Linked DNA regions of Homo sapiens: all the other regions are linked to region 2. Evidence: promoter capture Hi-C in 16 types of primary human blood cells and fetal thymus (Javierre and others, 2016). All regions are on one chromosome and are shown on one strand. The core of a region is centred on a gene start or on the middle of the fragment in contact, and the rest is flanking DNA. Distances in the headings are between cores, read along the strand shown.

Region 1 (5,185 bases), core at 180-2,679, 250 kb after region 2:
GCAAAGACCACACAGTCTCTGGTGATGAGGATTACTGTCCTCGCAGTGAGTATATCTGTATATCTAAGAGTTATTTCACCCTGCTCAAGTGGGCTCAACATTAAGGACTGCTTTTCCTCTGTCACGTTTTCCATTTGCAGAATTTCTTTATTGTGGTCTTAGATCTATTTGAGTGAAGTAGGTAGATGTGAAATGTGTAGAAAGAAGGAGAGAAACCCACGTTTGATTACCACCTTTGTTCTAAGCATAGTGTGAGAAGATGAAGAGCTTGAATATGAGGATATTTGGGTATTAGCTTTTATAGGAGCAGTTTTCAAACTTTGTCCCTTGGAAGCCTTTGTAGGTGCCTCAAGGGCTGAAATTGAGGTATGGGGTCTAAGAAGGGCAGTGTTAGATGTCCTCTTCTTCTTCTTCTTTTTTTTTTTTTTTTTGAGACGGAATTTCACTCTTGTTGCCCAGGCTGGAGAGCAATGGCGTGATCTCGGCTCACTGCAACCTCCACCTCCTGGGTTCAAACACTTCTCCTACTTCAGTCTCCCGAGTAGCTGGGACTACAGGTGTGTGCCACCACATCTGGCTAATTTTTGTATTTTTTGTAGGGACGGGGTTTCGCCATGTTGGCCAAGCTGGTCTCAAACTCCTGACCTCAGGTGATCTGCCCACCTCGGCCTCCCAAAGTGCTGGGGATTACAAGTGTGAGCCACTGCACCTGACCCTCTTCTTCTACTTTTAAAATTAATTTATTCAGTGTTTATGCTGAATCTCTATTTGTGAAGCAGTTTGTCATACGCTAGGGGTATAGCAGCAAACAAGACAGATAAGGTTCTTAAAATTCTTGTGAGGAGAAACATGGCAAATACCTAACGAAAAATGAGTGACTGAGAGGGGATCATGTAGGGACACTGGTAATATTCTTTCTCTTGATCTGGGTGCCGGGTATATGTGTTCAGTTTGTAAAAGAAACACACACTGAATAGTTTTCTGAATATATATCCATATTCTTTCTTAAAGTGTATGTATTGAGTATATTTCAAGAAAGAAATAAAACAAATTTTAATTAAAAAAATAAGATGGTTAGGTTAGGTCAGGTTTTCTCAACCTCAGTGTTACTGACATTTTGGGCTAGATGAATCTTTTTTTTTTTCCTCCCACCATGACACTGATGAGGAAGATAGTTTTTTGTACTGGGAGCTGTCCTGTGCATTATAGGTTATTCGGGAGCTCCCCTCTACCCACTAGGTGGTAGCAGTGAAAACCAAGTATGTCTCTAAATCCTGCCAGATACATGTGGCAGGCAGCAGTGCTCCCTTTCGAGAACCACTAGGTTAAATGATCCATAAGCTTCTTTCAGCTCTGCTGTCTGTAACCTAATGAAAATTGCTTATGTGTTGGTGTCATGTGGGAGATAAAGAAATAAAAGAAGTTGCTTCCTGAGTACTAGGTTATTGTGCTTCTTCGATAAATCTTTATTTTTTAAAAAGTAATTCATTTTAGAGAAATTCCTAACTCAAGCTTGAAACTCACAAAATTGTTAAATAAGAATAATACTGATTTACAAAAATAAACATTCCTTCAAATAAAACTTCAGATTTAAGGTGTTTGCATGTTGAATTATATCGAGCATAGATTATGTCACTTTATAGAAGAATCTGGTTTCGTTAGACTTCATAAATACTCAGGTGAGGGCAGTTAGGTTTGAGAGCAGTAACTGTGGAGCCTGGATGTTTAGATTTGGAAGAGATTCCAGTGGGATGAAGGAGTGTTACTTTATAATGTGTCCCCGAGACAAGATTGGGGAGCCAGACCCTTCACTTCTAGAGCATCCTGGTGGATGTTGTTTCGTGTTTTCCAGTTCTAGAATGGCAGTTTTTATTTAAAATTACCCAACTGAGGCTGGATGCAGTGGCTGATGCCTATAATCCCAGCACTTTGGGAGGCTGAGGCAGGCGGATCACTTGAGCTCAAGAGTTAAAAGACCAGCCTGGCCAACATGGCGAAACCCCGTCTCTACAAAAAACACAAAAATTAGCCGGGTGTGGTGGCGGGCACCTGTAATCCCAGCTACTTGGCAGGCTGAGGCAAGAGAATTGTTTAAGCCCAGGAGGCAGGGGTTGCAGTGAGCCAAGATTGCGCCACTGCACTGCAGCCTGGGTGACAGAGCAACATTCTGTCTCAAAAAATTAAAAAAAATAAATAAATTACCCAATTGAAAAGACTAAACAAAGTTATGTGTTAGTATTGCAGAGATGTTTCAGGTTAAAGTGGGGAGAATGGGAAAGAGAAGATAAACAATCATAGTATGAGGTAAGGCTTCAAATATTGTGGTGACTGGCCGGGCGTGGTAGCTCACACCTGTAATCCCAGCACTTGGGAGGCCAAGGCGGGCGGATCACCTGAGGTCAGGAGTTGGAGACCAGCCTGGCCAACATGGTGAAACCCCATCTCTACTAAAAATAGAAAAATTAGCCAGGTGTGTTGGTGTGTGCCTGTAATCCCAGCCACTCGGGAGTCTGAGGCAGGGAGAATTGCATGAACCTGGGAGGCAGAGGTTTCAGTGAGCTGAGATTGTACCACTGCACTCCAGCCTGGGCGACAGAGCGAGACTCTATCTCAAAAAACAAAACGAAACAAAACAAAAAACCAAATATTGTGATGATCTAAGATAGGCTTTGATAAATTGGCTCAAGATATATCTATGTTAAAGTCACGTATCAGTATATAGGAACTGATTTACAAAAAAGTTAGTTGTATTATTTGACACTTGAAGCCTCCAAGGATAAGTCTATAGTATTTATATGTTCTCATTACCTCTGCTTCACTACAGATGCCTTTGCTCTTAACATCATGTAAAAGGAGTAAATTCTTTATTTTGCTTTGATATAAAGATATTTAGTCATTCTTCATTCTAAGTTGCAGTACCCCTAAACTTTGGAACTGTGTAACGATTCCACTTCAGAGAGCAAATATCTGAGATAACATGCTGTGTTTAAGATATTTAAGAGAAATTAGCATCTTTTATACATGAAGATATATTTGATATATTTCACAGGAAGTATCTGTGTTGTTACAAATTGTTGAGTTTGGCACTGTGTACTGCTTAGATTTGAAACTAGCAATTGGGTATTTACTAAAGTCAACCTAATGTCTCAATTTTTCTTAGGTAAGAAAGCAAACTTAGGTAAAAATGCAAGCATGAACACACAACATGGAACAGCAACAGAAGTTGCTGTAGAGACAACCACACCCAAACAAGGACAGAACCTATGGTAATGTGAGCATTCATCTGGTTGCTCTTTCTTTTTCCTTTTAATTGTTAAGGAAGAAAGTATTTAGTATAGTGATGCCAGTGAGTTAATAATTATTTGCGCAGGATACTTTGTGTGACTGATATTTTGGATATCAAAACTTCTTGCATTAGCAGACCTGATTTTTTGTTAAGAAGATACTTGTTTTTTTAAGGGTTGGAATTTTGATTTTTTCCCCCCTGTAATATAACTTTGTATATTATGTGATAGATCTTATATAGCAGTAGAAATGTAGCTTAAATTTGGTTGGGAATAGAAGTATTTAAGATTTTCCTTAAATTTTATTAATTAACAAATTGTATGCATAGCTATTCGTTTCCTTTATGCGCATTTCTGCTTTTAGGCAGCGAGCTAGGTTTTAGAGGATCCATTCTACGGCTTTAACTGTGATCACCTGTGATTTAATGACCTTTCATTTTTGAATTTTGGGTATAGGTTTACTCTCTGGAGGGAAAGGGACAAGTATGCCAATTAACTTTATAAAATTTCATATAATATTTTAATAGGAACCATATTGGCTCTGGTGTCCTAGTACAGAATTAACATTAGGCATCATGAAAATAGTAAATTACTTATTCTACTTCTAGATAGTAGATTGTGAACACATTTGGAATTCTGTTCTCCCAAGTCCCACCACCAACTCTAGATCCCTTGCTTAGTGTTTGATTTTGAATTTTTTTTTTTTTTTCAGAGTTATCAGGTCTCTTTTGCCCCTACAGGTTTTTATGTGATAGTCAAAAGGAGCTGGATGAGTTGCTAAACTGTCTTCACCCTCAGGGAATAAGAGAAAGTCAACTTAAAGAGAGACTAGAGAAGAGGTAAGAGGTTTTCATCTTACTCCTCACATCTTACTTCTCTTTAGCATTGGATATAAATATCTGAGGGTTTTTTTTCTTATCCATTTAAGTTACTAAAGTAAAATATTTTAAATGTGTAACCGTTTTGTGTTCATATTGCCTGGTATTTTCTTGGCATATTATGCTTATTGGAAAAATATACCTTTGGCCATCTATATATAGAGTAGCAGGATTATTATGCACTAAAGAACAGTTGCCAGCACCAAGCTGTGAGCCTCATGGTTGTCAGACAGCTTTGCAGATGGAGGCCCAGATGGGTGGGTGTCCAGAAGTATTCTATCAATATTCAGAAGAGCCAAAAGGTGGAAACAACGGCAATGACTATCAACTGATGGAACGGATAAATAAAAGTTAGTATATATCCAGGCCTTGTGCGGTGGCTCACACCTGTAATCCCGGCACTTTGAGAGGTAAAGGCAGGCCAGTGTCTTGCATCCAGGAGTTTTGAGACCAGCCTGGGCAACATAGGGAAACTCCGTTTCTGAAAAAAAAAAACAAAACAAAAATTATCTTGGGTGTGGTGGTTTGTGTATGTAGTCTTAGCTACTTGGGAGGCTGAGCTGAGTTGATCACTTGAGCCCAGGAGGCGGAGGTTGCATTGAGCCAAGATCATGCCCCTGCACTCTGGCCTGGGTGAGAGAGCGAGATGCTGTCTCATACAAAATGAAACAAAAAACCCCCAAAATTTAGTATATTCAAATAGTGGAATATTATTTAGCCACAAAAAGAAATGAAGTACTGTTCTGTGCTACAACATGAATGAACCTAGAAAACATGCTAAGCAAAAGAAGTCAGACATCAAAGGCCATGTGGTGTATGATTCCATTCAAATGAAACATCTTAGAATAGGCAAATCTATTTCAAACAGAAAGTGGATTAGTGGTTGCCAGAGGATAGGGGAAGGGGAGAATAGGAGTGATGATTGCTAACAGGTAAGAGATTCCTGCTTGGGGTGATGAAAATGTTTTGGAATTACATGTGTGGTTCTACAACAAAAAACTGAAGTACATGCTTCAAGTTGGT
Region 2 (5,301 bases), core at 507-3,006:
CCCCAGGCTTCTAGATAGAAAATAGAACCTACATTGGCCAAGTGTAATCCCAGTGCTTTGGAAGCCCAAGCCAGGAGGATCGCTTGAGGCTAGGACTTTGAGACCAGCCTGGGCAACATGAGGAGACCCCGTCTTTACAAAAACGAAAAAAGAGAAAATAGAACCTCAGGCCTAGAGCCAGAGTTCAGGATTGGGGATGCAGGGAAAGGAGGAGAGGGGGGCCATAACTCAAATCTCTTTCCCAAAGATAGAGTAGTTCCTGGCTGGGTGCAGTGGCTCACACCTGTAATCCCAGCACTTTGGGAGGCTGAGGCAGGCAGATCACTTGAGGTCAGGAGTTCGAAACCAGCCTGGACAACATGGTGAAACCCCTTCTCTACTAAAAATACAAAAAAATTAGCCAGGCGTGGTTGTGGGTGCCTGTAATCTCAAGCTACTTGGGAGGCTGAGGCAGGAGAATTGCTTGAACTCGGGAGGTGGAGGTTGCAGTGAGCCAAGATCGTGCTACTGCACTCCAGACTGGGCAACAGAGTGAGACTCCGTCTCAAAAAAAAAAAAAAAAAATAGGCCGGGCACGGTGGCTCACGCCTATAAGCCCAGCACTTTGGGAGGCCGAGGCGGGAGAATCAAGAGGTCAAGAGTTTGAGACCAGCCTGCTCAACATGGTGAAACCCTGTCTCTACTAAAAAATACAAAAAATTAGCCGGGCGTGGTGGTGGGCACCTGTAATCCCAGCTACTTGGGAGGATGAGGCAGGAGACTCGCTTGAACCCAGGAGGCAGAGCTGAGATAGCGCCACTGCACTCCAGCCTGGGCGACAAGAGTGAAACTCCATCTCATAAATAAATAATCAAACAAACAAACAAACATAAAAAGATAGAGGAGTTCCTTCATCCTGCAGGAAAAAGGGGTGGGTCACGCAGCATCAGAGCTGTGAACTGAGAAATCCTAGGGAAAGAAGAGGCCAGTGCCTGAGTCCCTACTGGATGATGGGAGCAAGGGGGAAGGGTGGAGGCTCCCAGACTGGAACTCTCCAGGAGGTTTTTGGCTGGGGAACAGAAGGGAGAGCAGGAGGTCCCAAGGTAATGAAATGAAGGAGGGAGTTACAACCTTCAGCAAATTCTGGGGAAGTGAAGGGATCTGAGGATGAGGACCGGATTCTGGGACAGGGATGCTGAGCTGCTAAGTCGGGAAGAGGCTGGAAGCCAGGCACGGTGGCTCACGCCTGTAATCGCAGAGCTTTGGGAGGAGGGAGGATCGCTTGAGGACAGGAGTTCAAGACCAGCCTGAGTAACATAGCAAGACCCTGTCTCTACAAAATATTTGAAAATTATTCAGGAGTAGTGGCGAGCAACTCTAGTCCCAGCCACCCAGGAGACTGAGGCGGGAGGATTGCCTGAGCTCAGGAGCTCAAGGCTGCAGTGAGCTATGATTGCACCACAGCACTCCAGCCTGGGCGACAGAGCGAGACCCTGTCTCCAAAAATAATAAATAAAAAACGAGACAGGGCTGGGGCAGAGGAGGCAGCAGGGTCTCTGGGGACCCATCCCCGGGAGCGATCACGCGTGCGGAACGTCCAGGACGAGACCCCAGGGCTTCGATCCCCACGGGGCTGCTCGTGCGGGGTGGGGCGGGGTCTGGGCGGGGTCTGGGCGGGGCCCGGGCGGGGTGGGGCGGGGCCGGGGTCCCGGGGGCCGGGGCGGGGCCGGGCTGGCGCTGCGCAGCCGCGGGGCGGCCGTCGCGCATGCGGGGCTCACACGGCTGCAGCCGGCGCCGCTGCCACTCCCGGGAGCATGAAGGACCGAACCCAGGAGCTCCGCACGGTGAGTCCGGCCCCAGCGCGCGGCCGCCCGCCGCCCGCCGCCAGCGCCAACGCGCCGGACACTTCCCGCCCGGCTCCCGCGGCCAGGATGGTGGCCGCTCCTGCGCCCCCAGCCAGGGCTGAAGGGAGCGGGGCGAGCCAGGGACCTCGACCCCCCTCCGGGTTCCGCCCCTCGGACCCACTCGGGGTCAGGCTCGCGTGAGCTCGGCCGCGCTGACACGTGGACGGTCGGCTGGAGTCCGGGGTCCTGGATAAACTTTTCGGGGCCCTCTTGATTTGGGGGGTTCGGAGGGTATGATGGGGTTTTGGTGGCGGGACCTCTTCCCCCTCCCGCAGAGCAGGCCCTTTCTCTGGCCCCCTCACTGCCCCTCATCTCTGACCTCCCGTGCCCCCTCGGTGTAGACAGACGAGGGGACCGCGGTGGGAACCTCCTTGGTGTAGACAGACGAGGGGACCGCGGTGGGCCGGTGCCGGTCCCCTGCGCGGGGCCCCGCTGCGGGGCGCGCTGCGGAAACCTGATCGTCGGGTGGTGGCGGCCTCCTCGGGCCACCCTGGTCACCTGTGGCTCCCATCACCTGTGGCTCCCCCTCTGCTTGGTCGCAGTAGGGATCCACTGCCCGCCCCAGGTATGGGGGGGGGGGCGTCACACCCGCCCCCGGTCCACCTATCCACCTTCGGGCTTTCGGGCAGCACTGGCTGGCGTTTCCAGACCCTTCAGGGTTCCTTGCGACTTGGATCTATTTTTCTACCTGTATCTGGGAAACCCCTGGGGTGTGGCTCCTGGGGCGGGGTTTGGGGGGAGTAGGAGGATGCACAAACGTTCTGAGTCAGAGCCCACCTTCTCCCAGCCCAGAGACCCCTGCAGCCTGCGTGGGTCCCCTTCCCCTGGCCTCTGCCCTTAGGGATGAGGAGCCCAGGAGGATGGTGACCGGGAGTGGAGGACAGCGACGGAAATGAAGCCTCTCTGGGTGTGTCGGGGAGGGGGGGTGGATCAAGGCTCAAGACTAGATTGAGTCTCATCTGGTCATCTGGTCCCCTGGCTGGCCACCTGGCTGGCAGCCCTGCCTGCTGATCCCTGGGAGCACCCCCCACCCCGCTCCCTGGGCTAGGAACTAGAACCCTAAGGTCCCCTCCTATGGAAAATGTCAAGTGTCCTTTGGGCATTTGACCCCACGGCTTGTCTTCTCCACCCAGAGGCTCCCTGAGTTGGAGCCTGTCTGCCCCATTATGTCATGGTTGCCTCCTGGGCATCCTGGAGCCGGGACCTGGGCTCCCCTGCCTTCATGTCCCCCACTTGCTCTGGCACCACGGCCTCCACTTTGCCTCCAGACCTGTTATTCCTGGCCGAGCGCCCAGCCCCTGGTGTAAACCCCATGAGGTTTCAAAGGAAGAAGATGGTCCCTCAAGTCGCATATGGGCTCTAAACACTTCCCCCGCGGCCCCTGTGGTTGCCCTCAAGTTTCCTGAGCTCCGTTGAGTCAGAATGAGTGTTTTCCTGGTGACGGATGGCTGTGTGGTGTAATGTGCTGATGTTTAGGCGCCTGGTAGGTTACCTGAGGGTGTGTGTGGGAACCAAGTGGTCAGGGGAACCATGGGCCCCTACATAGGATAATAGCCTCTGGCATGTCAGCCTTCATCCCCCTAGCTGAAGGGGAAACTGAGGCACAAAAGAAACACGGCTTGCCTGCTAGAGGGAGGGGTGGTAGAAAAGGGCTTTGCCTCATCCCTGAAGATAGTCAGACTCAGGCCTGGCTGACACTGGGGGACAGCCAGTGGAGCTGGGGTTGTGAAGCGTTTGAACCCAGATCTTTTTGCTCTGATGTCTGTCTCTGTTACTACCTCCTCGCCCCCTGATTAGATGGTGAAGCCAGGCTTTGCTTTGAATGGTCTGAGGCTTCCGCTCCAGACACCCCCACCCTCCCCACACAAGGCATTCAGAGCCCAGGGAGGCTGTACCCATTGCTGGGTGGCCCTGCCCAGGGAGGGCTTTCTAGCAGACAGGTGGACGGCTGGCAGGCAGGAGCCCACCCGGGGTGGGGTGAGACAGTCAGTCTTGGTGGGGCCACTGTTCCCACAGGCTGCTTTCCCTCTGGACCTAGGGTTCCCATCTGTGAAGTGGGGATGGGAAAGCCTAGAATTCAGTTTCTCGGGACGAGAAGCAGGGCTACAGGTCTCCTGACTCCAGCTCCACATTTGTAGGAGGCCTGAAGCCCCAGGAGTCAGAATTTTCAGCCCAGAATCCCCAGAAAGGAAGAGGCCAGCACTGGCTGAGCTGGACTGGGCTGGACTGGGCTGGACTGGGGCGGGCTGGGCTGGGCTGGGCTGAACAGAGATGGTGCTGGGGACAGCGGCTGTGCACCGCTCCCAGCCCTCCCTCCCTCCCTCTTCCTCCTCCTCCTCCCTCTTCTTTCTCCTTCTCCCCCACCCAACACCACCACATTTGGAAGGAGGCGAAGAGAGCTTATTTATAAAAGTCACACTTGGGGAAGGAGCTGGCGCGTTTCCTCACTCTGCAGGCCCGGCCCAGCCCTCCAGCCTTCTCCAGCCTTCTCCAGCTCCCAACTCTCCCTCTGCAGATGGGGAGTGAAGGGGGTCACTGGGGACTAGCCAGGGGGCCTCAATGCTGTCGCAGTCCCTCAGAGATCAGAAAGGCCACTTGCAGGTTACAGGTAACAAAGAGAGACCGAAGACAGGGCCAGGGTCACACAGCCAGGGAAAGACTTTTAGGTTAGAGCATCCCCAGGAGCCCCACTCAGGCTGTAGCTGCCTCCTCCCCTCAACTCAGAGACTCCCTGATTTTCTTCCTGGGGACTTTGCAGAGCTGACCTTTCTCCCTGGGCCCAGAACATGTATTTGTCTATGTGCCAGGTCATGTGGGACAGACACATGGGACCTGTTGCAGGAGGCTGAAGACGTAGCAAGGAGGGAGAGTTGGAGCAGCACAATCCTGGAAGGCTTCCTGGAAGAAGAGACCCTGGGATAGCACAGGAGCAGGAGCTGGATTTGAATAGGAGGAGAGAAGGTGATCCAAAGGAGGGGACAGCTTAGTGAAGGCAGAGAGATTGGAATGCTCAACCAGGAGAGAATAGCAGGTGGTCCTGACAGCTGGTGTCTGGGGCCCCCTGAAGTGCCTTGAGGTCTAGACTAGGGCCCAACTCACTGGAGCAGCCCAGGCAGGCCTGGATGGGAAGGCCCAGGGCCCTGCTTTGCCCATCAGTTTCCCCTTCTCTTTCGTTGCTGGGAAGAGTCTGGCGGTTGGGTGGCAACACCGGGCAGGTTCATCCTTAATCTCCCTCTGCTCATTTCCTCATCTGCAGAATGGAGCCAGTGTTACCTACTTTGCAGAGTGGCAGGCACGAGAGTGTAAGAACAGGAGCCGGACAGGGCTCGCCCGATCCTTCCTCCCATTACGTTCCAGAGGTTTCCCAGCATGAACGATGCATTTGGGTACATTTTCATCTGGGGTGCAGGTGGAACGG
Region 3 (5,953 bases), core at 3,297-5,796, 230 kb after region 2:
CAGGAGAATGGCATGAACCTGGGAGGCGGAGCTTGCAGTGAGTGGAGATCACGCCACTGCACTCCAGCCTGGGCGATAGAGCAAGATTCCTTCTCAAAAAACAAAACAAAAAAAAATTTGCCAGGTGTGGTGGCGCACGCCTATAATCCCAGCTACTCAGGAGGCTGAGGCAGGAGACTCGCTTGAACCTGGGAGGCGGAGGTTGCAGTGAGTTGAGATTGCGCCCCTGCACTCCAGCCTGGGCAACATAGAGCGAGACTCCGTCTCAAAAAAAAAAAAAAAAAAAAAAGCGTTTTGCTGATTGGAACTAAGATTCTAAGAAATATGGAATGTTACTTTTCAGGTATTCCTACACCACCTGTATGTGCAGAATCTTAGAAAGGTGGATTAGGAGACTGGGTGTGGAAGGCAATGCACATTTGTCTTCAGGTATAACCATTTTACAGAAGAAACAGCTAAGACCTGAGAAGTTTAATAACTGTCAAAATTCTTGATTCAGTAAATGAAAATGGGAAGGATTGTAACCCAAATCTTTTGCTTCTTTATTTACATTGTTTTGTTCCTGCCTCAGAATGCTGACAAGTCCGATTCCATTCTGACTGTTGGTGTTATGGTTCGTGATCAGAAGCCTTGGCTGGGTTGTTAGGATTTTTTTTTTCTTTTCTTTTCTTTTTTTGAGATGGAGTTTTGCTCTTGTTGCCCAGGCTGGAGTGCAATGGCGCAATCTCGGCTCACTGCATCCTCTGCCTCCTGGGTTCAAGTGATTCTCCAGCCTCAGCCTCCCAAGTAGCTAGGATTACAGGCATGCATCACCATGCCTGACTAATTTTGTGTTTTTTGTAGAGACAGAGTTTCACCACGTTGGTCAGGCTGATCTCGAACTCCTGACCTCAGGTGGTCTACCACCCCTTGGCCTCCCAAAGTGCTGGGATTACAAGCGTGATCCACCACGCCCGGCCTAGGTTGTTGTTTTGTTTTTTTGTCTTTTTTGAGACGGAGTCTTGTTCTGTCGCTCAGGCGGGAGTACAATGGCACGGTCTTGGCTCACTACAGCCTCTGCCTCTCGGATTCAAGCGATTCTCCTGCCTCAGCCTCACAAGTAGCTGGGATTACAGGTGCCCGCCACCGTGCCCGGCTAAGTTTTGTATTTTTAGTAGATACGGGATTTCACTATGTTGGCCAGGCTGGTCTTGAACTCCTGACCTTGTGATCCGCCTGCCTCGGCTTCCCAAAGTACTGGGATTACAGGCATGAGCCACTGCACCTGGCCAGGATTTTTTTATATTTGAATATTGGATATTGTTAAATACAATTTTTCACAGAGTTTCTTCTCATTCAGCAAGGTAGCTGATTAAGACATGCCTAGTTTTAGGCCAGGCACGGTGGCTCATGCCTGTAATCCCAGCACTTTGGGAGGCCGAGGCAGGTGGATCACCTGAGCTCGGGAGTTCGAGACCAGCCTGACCAACATGGAGAAACCCCATCTCTACTAAAAATACAAAATTAGCCGGGCGTGGTGGCACATGCCTGTAATCCCAGCTACTAGGGAGGCTGAGGCAGGAGAATAGCTTGAACCAGGGAGGCGGAGGTTGCAGTGAGCAGAGATTGCGCCATTGCTCTCCAGCCTGGGCAACAAGAGTGAAACTCCATCTCAAAAAAAAAAAAAAATGCTTAGTTTTAACCACTTCCCTAAGTATCCCTTGTATTCATATTGATGAGTATAAGTATTTTGTTCACAAATATAAGTATTGGTTACAGGAAGAAAGAAAATGCAAATAAGAAAGAGATAGTATCTGATGTCATGCTCAGAGATAATTGGTGAATATAGATTTAGTGAATGGTAGGTAGCTCCTAAGTGACTTTTTAAAAAAAATTTTTTTGTATTCCTTCCTTCTCTGTTTCCTGCTATTAAGTGACTTTTAAAAGTAGAACTATTCTGTTTATATTATTTTATAACTTAATTTTTTCATTTATTGTGTGCTAAACATCTGTAATGTCATTAAATTTTCTTCCAAAACAGTGTTCTCAGATTTTAATGTGTGTGATAGTCACCAGGGGAGGTGATTAGATATGTTGATTCCTAACCTCTACTGCCAGAGAGTCATAAGATTCATTAAGTGTGTGGTGAGGCCCAAACATCTGCATTTTAATAGTACCCTAGATGATTCTGATGAATTTTTCTGGATTGAGAAAGTTTTTTCATAGGACTGCAGTGTCCATTATATGTACATAGTTTCATTTAACAAATCCCTTATTGGTGTACCTTTAGGTAATAACTCTCAACCCATTCCTCACTTTTTTGCTATTACAAGCATTTGATGACAACTTTGTCCATTTACTTCCTAAGATAAATTCTTAACGAGAGGAATTGCTGAAAGGGTATACATATTTTTAGAAAACTTTGATACATATTGACATATTGCCTAAGGATATTTTTAAATTGACATTCTGTCTCTGAAAATTATTCTCCGTTTTCTGTCTCTCAGATAGGGTCTCACTCTGTTGCCCAGGCTAGAGTGCATTGGTGTGACCATAGCTCACTATAGCTTCGAACTCCTGGGTTCAAGTAATTCCCCTGCTTCAGCCTCCCAAATAGCTAGGACTATTGGCGTATTTTGATTTTTGTACACAGAGGGTCTTGTTATATTGCCCAGGTCGATCTGTAACTCCTGGCCTCAAACAATCTTTATACCTTGGCCTCCTGAGTTGATGAGATTACAAGTGTAAGAAACCATCCCTGGCCTATATATTTTTCTTTCTAATTTGTAGCCCTGTTGATATAGATGGAATTTTGATTTTTCTGGAGAGAACGTATATTGCTTGTTCTCATTTGGGTAATTACTTTTTACCCCAGTGGTGAGTTATTTGTTTCTTTTTAACCTAGATCATCAGTAACGTGCCAGCAGACAGCTTGATTCGTACAGAGCGCCCACCAAATAAGGAGATAGTTCGATACTTTATACGGCATAATGCATTACGAGCTGGTACTGGTGAAAATGCACCTTGGGTCGTAGAAGATGAATTGGTGAAGAAATACTCTCTGCCCAGCAAGTTCAGTGACTTTTTACTTGATCCATACAAGGTAAGGTCACTGTTAATTTTTGGACAGCAGGATAAAGCATCATTATTTCTCTGATGGCTCCAGTATATTTATATTTATAGCAGGTTTTGAACTCTAACATCAGATAATGAATTAAAAATTTTTCAGGTATATCTGTTACATACAGGTTGTTATGTGAGGTTGGTAGGGGAGAGGCCACATTTAATATCTTCCCCAGTTCAATTTATTTTTTATTATGCTAGCATAATTTTAAAAGTCTATATACATGTGCTTTTGTGCCTCAGACCCTTTTTGGAATGAGGTATGGTATAAATATAAAAAGTATTTTGTTAACCAGTTACCAAGAATGAAAACTGATTTTGCATGTCGGACAAGATGATCACATACAGTGGCAGCCTTGAAAAGAACCTGGAATGAGGAGCAGTGTGTGTGATAGATTAGTGGAAAACCTAGTATTTTCCTCTTGAAGAGTAAGTTTTTTTTGTTTTTTTTTTTTTTTTGAGTTGGAGTCTCGCTCTGTCACCCAGGCTGGAGTGCAGTAGTGCGATCTCGGCTCACTGCAACCTCCTTCTCCTTCTTCTCAGCCTCCTGAGTAGCTGGGATTACAGGCATGTGCCACCACACCTGGCTAATTTTTCTATTTTTAGTAGAGATGGGGTTTTGCCGTGTTGGCCAGGCTAGTCTTGAGCTCCTGACCTCAAGTGATCCGCCTGCCTCGGCCTCCCAAAGTGCTGGGATTACAGATGTGAGCCACCATGCCTGGCCGAGAAGGAGTAATTTTTAAAATCCTCACTTTTGATTTTCCAAATATTTTTATGAAGTTATATGGTACATATATATATTTCATTTTACAGATGGGGTATCTGAGGCCTAGTCTAATCAGAACCAACAGAAAGTGATGACAAGACTTAAGACACTGGCCTAGGATTTCTGATTTTCTTTTCCATTTCAAGCTTTACCTGTTAAAGTGGTTTTTTAATGTAGGTTTTGAAAGTACTTAATGCTTCTTTCATTGGTAAATGTAACGCAGCATACTGGCTGATAATTTTCATCTTGGTCTCTGGGCCAGCGTAGAACCAGAAAAGGGCTCTTGATCCATTAAAACTAGGTCACATTTCCAGGATTTCTTTTTTTCCCATTTCATTTAATTATGAAAATATAAAGACATCTGAAGTCATAACAACTAAATTTGTTCAATTATCTTAAGTTGATTATGGTGACAAAAGCATATTGAAAAGTAATTTTATTTCTCCAAAACATTAGTAAAGACCTCCAGTCATGGTTTTAGCACTTAGCAGATTTTCTTATTCTAGACCAGCAAGATAAGTGGTGTCTTCTGTTATGCTCTTTAAATTATTATTATTTGCTTAAAAGGAAAAATTTAGAAAGTAATTGGCTTTTTCTAGATCAGGACTAAATTTTCCATGGAACTATAATTTTTTTCTCAGATGTTTGTTTTTGTTTGTTGAGGAGAAATTTTGAGTTCACTGTCATTTTGTTGCCACAGAGTTTGGAACCATGATTCAGCTTTCTGTGGTCTTCACATGAGATTCCTATCTTCGCTATATGAGAACTCCATGAAACCATCTCTAAATGGGTTTTAGACTAATTCTTGGATTACTTGAGTCCTTAATATTTTCCTCTTTTCTAATCTTACAGCTCTGTTTTATGTATTTTAGTTTAGTGATTCAAGTATGTGAATAATGTGAAAGACTCTTTTTATGGGTAAAATATTTTTTGAGTTTCCTAAGACATAAAAGCTGATCCACACTTATTTCTTACTTTAGAGACAGGGTCTTGCTCTGTTACCCAGGCTGGAGTGCAGTGGGACAATCACAGTTCACTGCAGCCTGAAATTTCTGGGCTCAAGTGATCCTCCTCCCTGTGTCTCACTAGTAGCTGGGGACTACAGGCACGTACCACCACGCCCAGCTGATCCACAATTTTTGTAGGAGAGAGAGACTAGAACTCCAGGAACTTAAAACCTGAAAGGCAATTTCTGAAGAAATAAGCTTCTCCCAGAATTTCTAGTGGGGGCTTAACTTACTAATGTTATGAAATTTGGCTATAATTTAGGTTAAGACTAGGAAATGGAAGCTTGCTTAAAGTGCTGGAAGATGGCAGTGATTTTACTCAGAAAACTTAAGACTCATGTAAAATACTGGTCTACAAAGTTAAAGGCATATACTCAGGTTTATTATTTGTTTTCCCTACCTTAAACAATAATTTCTTATTTCCTAATACTATCTGACATGTCACTGATTGTTTTCTGTATATAAGCTGTGTTTTTCCTATTTATAAAATTAGGACTTTGGCTTCTCAGCCAGGGCAAAACATAGTAACACAGATGATAAGTAGAACCTAAAACATTGCTTTGTTTTCTTTCTTTTTCTAGAAGAAATTTAAAATAATCTGTTGAGGATTAAAGTTGATCACATAGGACCCATCCATCCAAAGGCATGGGATGTTTTCTCTCTCTGTATACTCTTTGGTTTTTGTAGAATGTAATGTTCTGTCAGGCTCTGAGTACATTTACTGTAGAGTGAGACCAGGTGTAAAGAGAGTGAGTTCTGAGCAATAGTTTTAGCAGGCCAGGCGCAGTGGCTCACGCCTGTAATCCTAGCACTTTGGGAGGCCGAGTTGGGCGGATCACGAGGTCAGGAGATCGAGACCATCCTGGCTGACATGGTGAAACCCCGTCTCTACTAAAAATACAAAAAATTAGCCGGGCGTGGTGGCGGGCACCTGTAGTCCCAGCTACTCGGGAGGCTGAGGCAGGAGAATGGCATGAACCTGGGAGGCTGAGCTTGTAGTGAGCCGAGATCACGCCACTGCACTCCAGCCTGGGCAACAAAGTGAGACTCTGTCTCAAATAAATAAATAAATAAAATA
Region 4 (5,857 bases), core at 2,682-5,181, 180 kb after region 2:
TAGCTGTATGTATTTCAATTAACCTCATTCACTTAATTTTTATTTGAGCAATTGTATTTTTCATAACAAATTGCCTCAATTGGTTCTTCCTCAAAACGACTTTTTTTTTTTTTGAGACAGAGTCTCGCTGTGTCACCCAGGCTGGAGTGCAGTGGCATGATCTCATCTCACTGCAGCCTCCACTTTGCAGGTTCAAATGATTCTACTGCCTCAGCCTCCTGAGTAGCTGGGATTACAGGCATGTGCCACCATGCCCAGCTAATTTTTTTCTATTTTTAGTAGAGACAGGTTTCACCATATTGGCTAGGCTGGTCTCGAACTCCTGACCTCAAGTGATCTGCCTACCTTGGCCTCCCAAAAAGTGCTGTGATTACAGGCTGTGAGTCACTGCCCCTGGCTAAAACAACTTTTCAATATTATCCTTATCTTTCTGAGCAAATCCATGTTTAATTTCAGTTATTCTGCTCCTTCTGGTACAGACTGTTCTGTTTATCAGGGTGCCTGTGTTCCTCCAATCTCTGGTGAGTTTTATGCGTGCACTCACCTTTTATTCCCTTGGGACTCTCAATTGCATTGGCTGGTAATGTGTAACTACGAGGAGGACGGAAGCCTGATCCGTAGTTTTTCTTTCTTTTTTTTTTTTTTTTTTGAGATGGAGTCTCGCTCTGTCACCCAGGCTCGAGTGCAGTGGCACGATCTTGGCTCACTGCAAGCTCTGCCTCCTGGGTTCACGCCATTCTCCTGCCTCAGCCTCCCAAGTAGCTGGGACTACAGGCACCCGCCACCACGCTCAGCTAATTTTTTTGTATTTTTAGTGGAGGCGGGTGAAAACCGTGTTAGCCAGGATGGTCTCAATCTCCTGACCTCGTGATCGGCCCACCTCGGCCTCCCACAGTGCTGGGATTACAGGCGTGAGCCACCGCGCCCGGCCAGTTTTCCTTTCTGTAAATGAATTTAGGAGGTTGAGGTTAGCCTCAGGGTTCAGCCTCTCCCTTTTGCTCTCTGCTGTCCTCTCTGGCTCCAGGGAACCTCCTAGCACCAACTGTATGGACTCTGCCTTTATCTGAGAGCAGCCATCCCAAGAAGTTCTAGGATGCCAAACTCATGGAGTTGATGGGGCGTGGTTCTGGAGCAACTGTTTATTCCCCCATCCAGCCTGGCTCTGGCCATTACCCACAGGGGTCAAAGGTCAAGCAGTTAAATCTCTTGGGCATTGTGTATAGACAGGAGTAGATGCTGCTAGAAAACCCCCTTTCCTTGGCCGAGTGCGATGGCTCACGCCTGTAATCCCAGCACTTTGGGAGGCTGAGGCGGGCGGATTGAGACCATCCTGGAGCCAGGAGATCGAGACCATCCTGGCTAACATGGTGAAACCCCATCTCTACTAAAAAATACAAAAAATTAGCTGGGCATGGTAGTGGGCGCCTGTAGTCCCAGCTACTCGGGAGGCTGAGGCAAGAGAATGGCGTGAACCTGGGAGGTGGAGCTTGCAGTGAGCCGAGATTGTGCCATGGCACTCCAGCCTGGGTGACAGAGCAAGACTCTGTCTCAAAAAACAAACAAAAAATTGAGTTATTAACAAAAATTACGTTACTAATATAATGCATCTACCGGAAATGTATAAAAAGTGTGAACTGGTAAATTTGAGGCTACTCAGATTTAAACTTTTGGCTTTTGGGATGCTCTCATTTTCATATGCTTGGATTTACTCTGGGCTTTTTTTTTTTTGAGTTAGGGTCTAACTGTGTTGCCCAGGTTGGAGTGCACAGTCATAGCTCACTGCAGCCTCAAACTTTCAGGCTCAAGCGATCCTCCCACCTCAGCCTTCTCAGTAGCTGGGACCACCAGCCTATGCCACCATACATGGCTCATTTTTTATTTTTTTGTAGAGATGGGGTCTTACTATGTTGCCCAGGCTGGTCTCAAACTCCTGGGCTCAAGGGATCCTCCCACCTCCGCCTCCTCAAGTGCTGGGATTACAGGCATGAGCCACTGTGCCTGGCCCTTGGGCTTTCTTGTTGCAAGCTGGTGCTTACCTGCCCACTGTGGTTGCCCTGCACTTATAACCTACATCTTTCTTGAAACAAATGTTATAGGTAAAAATAAACATGGGGTGATCATTTTGTTTTTTGGGTTTTTTTGTTTGTTTCTTTTTGAGATGGAGTTTCGCTCTTTCGCCCAGGCTGTTATGAAGTGGCAGAATCTTGGCTCACTGCAACTTCCACCCCCCAGGTTCAAGCGATTCTCCTGTCTCAGCCTCCAGAGTAGCTGGGATTACAGGCACATGCCACCATGCCAGGCTCATTTTTGTATTTTTATTTATTTATTTATTTATTTATTTTATTTTTTGTTTTATTTTATGTTTTTTTAGATGGAGTCTCGCACTGTAGCCCAGGCTGGAGTGCAGTAGTGCCATCTTGGTTCACTGCAACCTCCACCTCAAGCAATTCTCCTGCCTCAGCCTCCCAAGTAGCTGGGATTACAGGCACATGCCACCACACTCGGCTGATTTTTGTATTTTTAGTAGAGATAGGGTTTCACAATGTTGGCCAGGCTGATCTTGAACTCCTGACCTCAGGTGATCCATGCGTCTTGGCCTCCCAAAGTGCTGGGATTACAGGCGTGAACCAGTGCGCCCGGCTGGGGTGGTCGTTTTGAATGGATGAGGATGACGGATCAGGAATAGAGCCAGCCTGGGCCCATTTGTCCTGTCACTGTCTGTGTTACATGAGGTTCCTTCTTCTCTCACTTTTTCCCCACTCTGCTACTGAAACAGGAATCTTTCTCAAATGAGTGTTTTGTATTTCTTGCCCATTCGTATAGAGAAGGGTTGCCTGGCGCAATTTGATCAGGGCAGGAGAGGGATACTATGGGATGTTCTAGTCGAAGTGTATGTATCTGCCTGTTGCTTATGATTCACAGTATTCCTGCTGGAAGGGTTCATTTTTCTGAGGCTTGAGGAGAAGTTGCTTGTCCAGGATTCTGTTCTTCCTTGGGTCCTTGGATTCTCACGCTGCTGTCGTTTTTCCTGTTCAGTCCTAATCCAGACCTCTGTGGTCTGTCACATAGCACCCTCCTCCCTCTCTGTGAGTCTCCTGCTTGGCTCTGTCATATTCCTCTTTTTTTCCTTTTCTAGAAAGAAAAGTCAAAATCGAACAGTTCAGCAGCCCGAGAACCTAATGGCTTTCCTTCTGATGCCTCAGCCAATTCCTCTCTCCTTCTTGAATTCCAGGGTGAGTTGCATCTCTGTGTCTTCCTTGCAGGAGAATGAAAACTTGGATGAATGCATTAATAAGAAGAATTGGCCAGGTGCAGTGACTCACACCTGTAACCTCAGCACTTTGGGAGTCTGAGGCGGGCAGATCACCTGAGGTCAGGAGTTCAAGACGAGCCTGGCCAATATGGTGAAACCCAGTCTCTACTAAAAATACAAAAAGTTAGCTGAGCGTGGTGGCGCGTGCCTGTAATCCCAGCTACTCGGGGGTCTGAGACAGGAGAATCGCTTAAACCCAGGAGGTGGAGGTTGCGGTGAGCCGAGATTGCGCCACTGCACTCCAGCCTGGGCTGCAGAGTGAGACTCCGTCTCAAAAAAAAAAAAAAAGAATTCTGTGTATCAATTCAGTGCCTGCTGTTTCGCTGGTATTTTGCGAGGCACTTGACCTAAATCTTTTCATTTAAACTTCACGATAACTCTGCAAGATAGGTAATGGTATTCTCATTTTCCAGTTAAGGAAACTGAGGCTCAGAGAGGTTAAGTTACGTGTCTAAAGTTACATAACTTGTAAGTGACAGACTCCATGTCAGGTCCTGGTTGTCCGAATCAGAAGCTTTTTTTTAGATTGTACTTCATTTTTTATTTTTTATTTTTTGTAGAGACAGAGTCTGGCTATGTTGTCCAGGCTGGTTGTGAACTCCTGGCCTCAAGCAGTCCCCCAGCCTTGACCTCCCAAGGTACAAGCATGAGCCACTGCACCTGGCCTAGACTGTATGTTTTATCATAGTCGCTTAGAGTAGGCTACCCAAAGCCGAAGCTTCTGCTTACCCACTGTTAGGACATGTTCTGCCTCCTAAACCAATCCCGCCGGATCATCACCGTAGTCATGATACTGCCTTTTACACCTACCTGCTAGGTACTGTCTACGAAGCACTTTTACTTTACTTTCTCATTTTTACCCATGTATCAGCCTGTGATATAAACCAGGCAGTTATTATCATCCCTATTTAAGGAAACTGATGCTCAGGGAGGAACAGTGTTTTGTCTAAGCTCAAAAGTGACAGTTTTATTCATTTGGTGACAAAATGCTACTTCCATTTTAGTGTGGGTATTAAAGGTCTTTATAGGAGTCAAGACTAGCATGAGTTTATGACTTTCTCTTCAAAACCAGATTGGAGCTAACCCAGCGTGTAGTTATTCCTTCCCCACCTCTTTCCCAGGCCCCACCAAGGTCAACCATGTGCTGTTGGAAAGGGAACACCAACGTGTGTTCAGTAGTCAGAAGGCTCTGGGAGACATATGAGGCTCCATTTCCTCAGTCTGGCCACCATCTCCTCCTTTTCATTTAGTAAACACTTAATGAACTCCCACTGTATGCAGGTACCGTGCGTTGCACTGGGGAGTCAAGGACAAGTGAGCCACAGAGCCTGTCCACAGAGGCTCATGGGAGGAAGCACGTGTGCGAAATGATAAATGCAGGCGTGCACAGGCTATCACAGGAGAGTAAGAGAGGGTGGGCATTTCCACCTATGCGAGCCAGGGAGGTAGGGCTCCGCGGAAGAAGTGATGTCGGGGCTGTGTTGGGAGGTCTGAGGCTTTCCAGGACAAGAGAAGGCAGCCTAGCCAAGGAACAGCTGGGCAGAAGCACCCATGCATGACGAAGCTCTTGGGTTAGGGTCCAGTCTGCCTGGAGCTGAGGATGCTTGTAGGAGAACAGTAGGCACTGAGGCCAGAGATCAGAAAGGACTTCCTATGTTGCGATAAGGCCAGCTCCTGCCTCTCCTAAGAAGTACTGGGTATGGCTGGGCGTGGTGGCTCATGCCTGTAATCCCAGCACTTTGGGAGGCTGAGGCAGGTGGATTACCTGAGGTCAGGAGTTCGAGACCAGCCTGACCAACATGGTGAAACCCCGTCTCTAATAAAAATACAAAATTACCCAGGCGTGGTGGCGCAAGCCTGTAATCCCAGCTACTCAAGAGGCTGAGGCAGGAGAATCAGTTGAACCCAGGAGGCAGAGGTTGTGGTGAGCTGAGATAGCACCATTGCACTCCAGCCTGGGCAACAAGAGCGAAACTCGGTCTCAAAAAAAAAAAAAAAAAAAGTACTGGGTATGACATTTCTCCCTTAGGCAGCAGTGGAGCGTCGAAGGGTTTAGAAAGGTCTCTCTGGCAGTGGTTTGCAGTTCAGTTTAAGGTACGTGAGACTGGAGGCAGGGCAGTGAGGTATGTGGCTGTTGCAGGAGGCCAGGCTGGAGATGATGAGGCTTGAACTGAAGCAGTAGGAGAGGAAGGAATGAGCACAAATGATACCAGAGCAGGAGGGGGAAACACTTTGGTGACTGGCTACTGTAGGTGCAGCGGAGGAATGCATTGGTGACTCTTACTTTTTTTCTTTTTTTTTAATTTTAATTTTTATTTTTTGAGACGGAGTCTCGCCATGTCACCCAGGCTACAGTGCAATGGCACGATCTCAGCTCACTGCAACCTCCACCTCCCGGGTTCAAGCGATTTTCCTGCCTCAGCCTCCCAAGTAACTGGGATTACAGGCGCGTGCTATCATGCCCGGCTAATTTTTGTATTTTCAGTAGAGACGGGGTTTCACCATGTTGGCCAGGCTGGTCTCAAACTTCTGACCTCAAGTGAT

Evidence for each region. Contacts are between HindIII fragments. The CHiCAGO score rates a contact against its expected background, and 5 or more counts as called.
Region 1: a fragment that was not itself captured here is called in contact with the fragment with the promoter of STX1A in region 2 in 4 of 17 cell types (M2 macrophages, M0 macrophages, erythroblasts and 1 more); the score reaches 8.2 in M2 macrophages.
Region 3: a contact is called between a fragment that was not itself captured here and the fragment with the promoter of STX1A in region 2, in 1 of 17 cell types (erythroblasts). The highest score is 5.9, in erythroblasts.
Region 4: a contact is called between a fragment that was not itself captured here and the fragment with the promoter of STX1A in region 2, in 1 of 17 cell types (total CD4 T cells). The highest score is 6.0, in total CD4 T cells.

The regions. Positions count from the first base shown.
Region 1 is chr7:73,464,377-73,469,561 of GRCh38, reverse strand. It overlaps BAZ1B (bromodomain adjacent to zinc finger domain 1B), which reads left to right. Exons shown (of 20, transcript NM_032408.4): 9 at 1-45; 10 at 3,161-3,266; 11 at 4,025-4,123. Among named protein-coding and RNA genes, the nearest start is that of FZD9, 33 kb to the right of the region's middle. The HindIII fragment of the contact is 171 bases long and covers 1,344-1,514 here.
Region 2 is chr7:73,716,124-73,721,424 of GRCh38, reverse strand. It overlaps STX1A (syntaxin 1A), which reads left to right and starts at 1,756. Exons shown (of 10, transcript NM_004603.4): 1 at 1,756-1,823. The coding sequence starts at 1,794. RefSeq lists silencers at 1,641-1,840, 1,901-2,100, 2,111-2,170, 2,281-2,360. The HindIII fragment of the contact is 14,118 bases long and covers 1-5,301 here.
Region 3 is chr7:73,486,323-73,492,275 of GRCh38, reverse strand. BAZ1B (bromodomain adjacent to zinc finger domain 1B) reads left to right here. Exons shown (of 20, transcript NM_032408.4): 6 at 2,885-3,082. Among named protein-coding and RNA genes, the nearest start is that of BAZ1B, 33 kb to the left of the region's middle. The HindIII fragment of the contact is 1,059 bases long and covers 4,017-5,075 here.
Region 4 is chr7:73,540,924-73,546,780 of GRCh38, reverse strand. It overlaps BCL7B (BAF chromatin remodeling complex subunit BCL7B), which reads left to right. Exons shown (of 6, transcript NM_001707.4): 3 at 3,137-3,233. Among named protein-coding and RNA genes, the nearest start is that of BCL7B, 14 kb to the left of the region's middle. The HindIII fragment of the contact is 204 bases long and covers 3,830-4,033 here.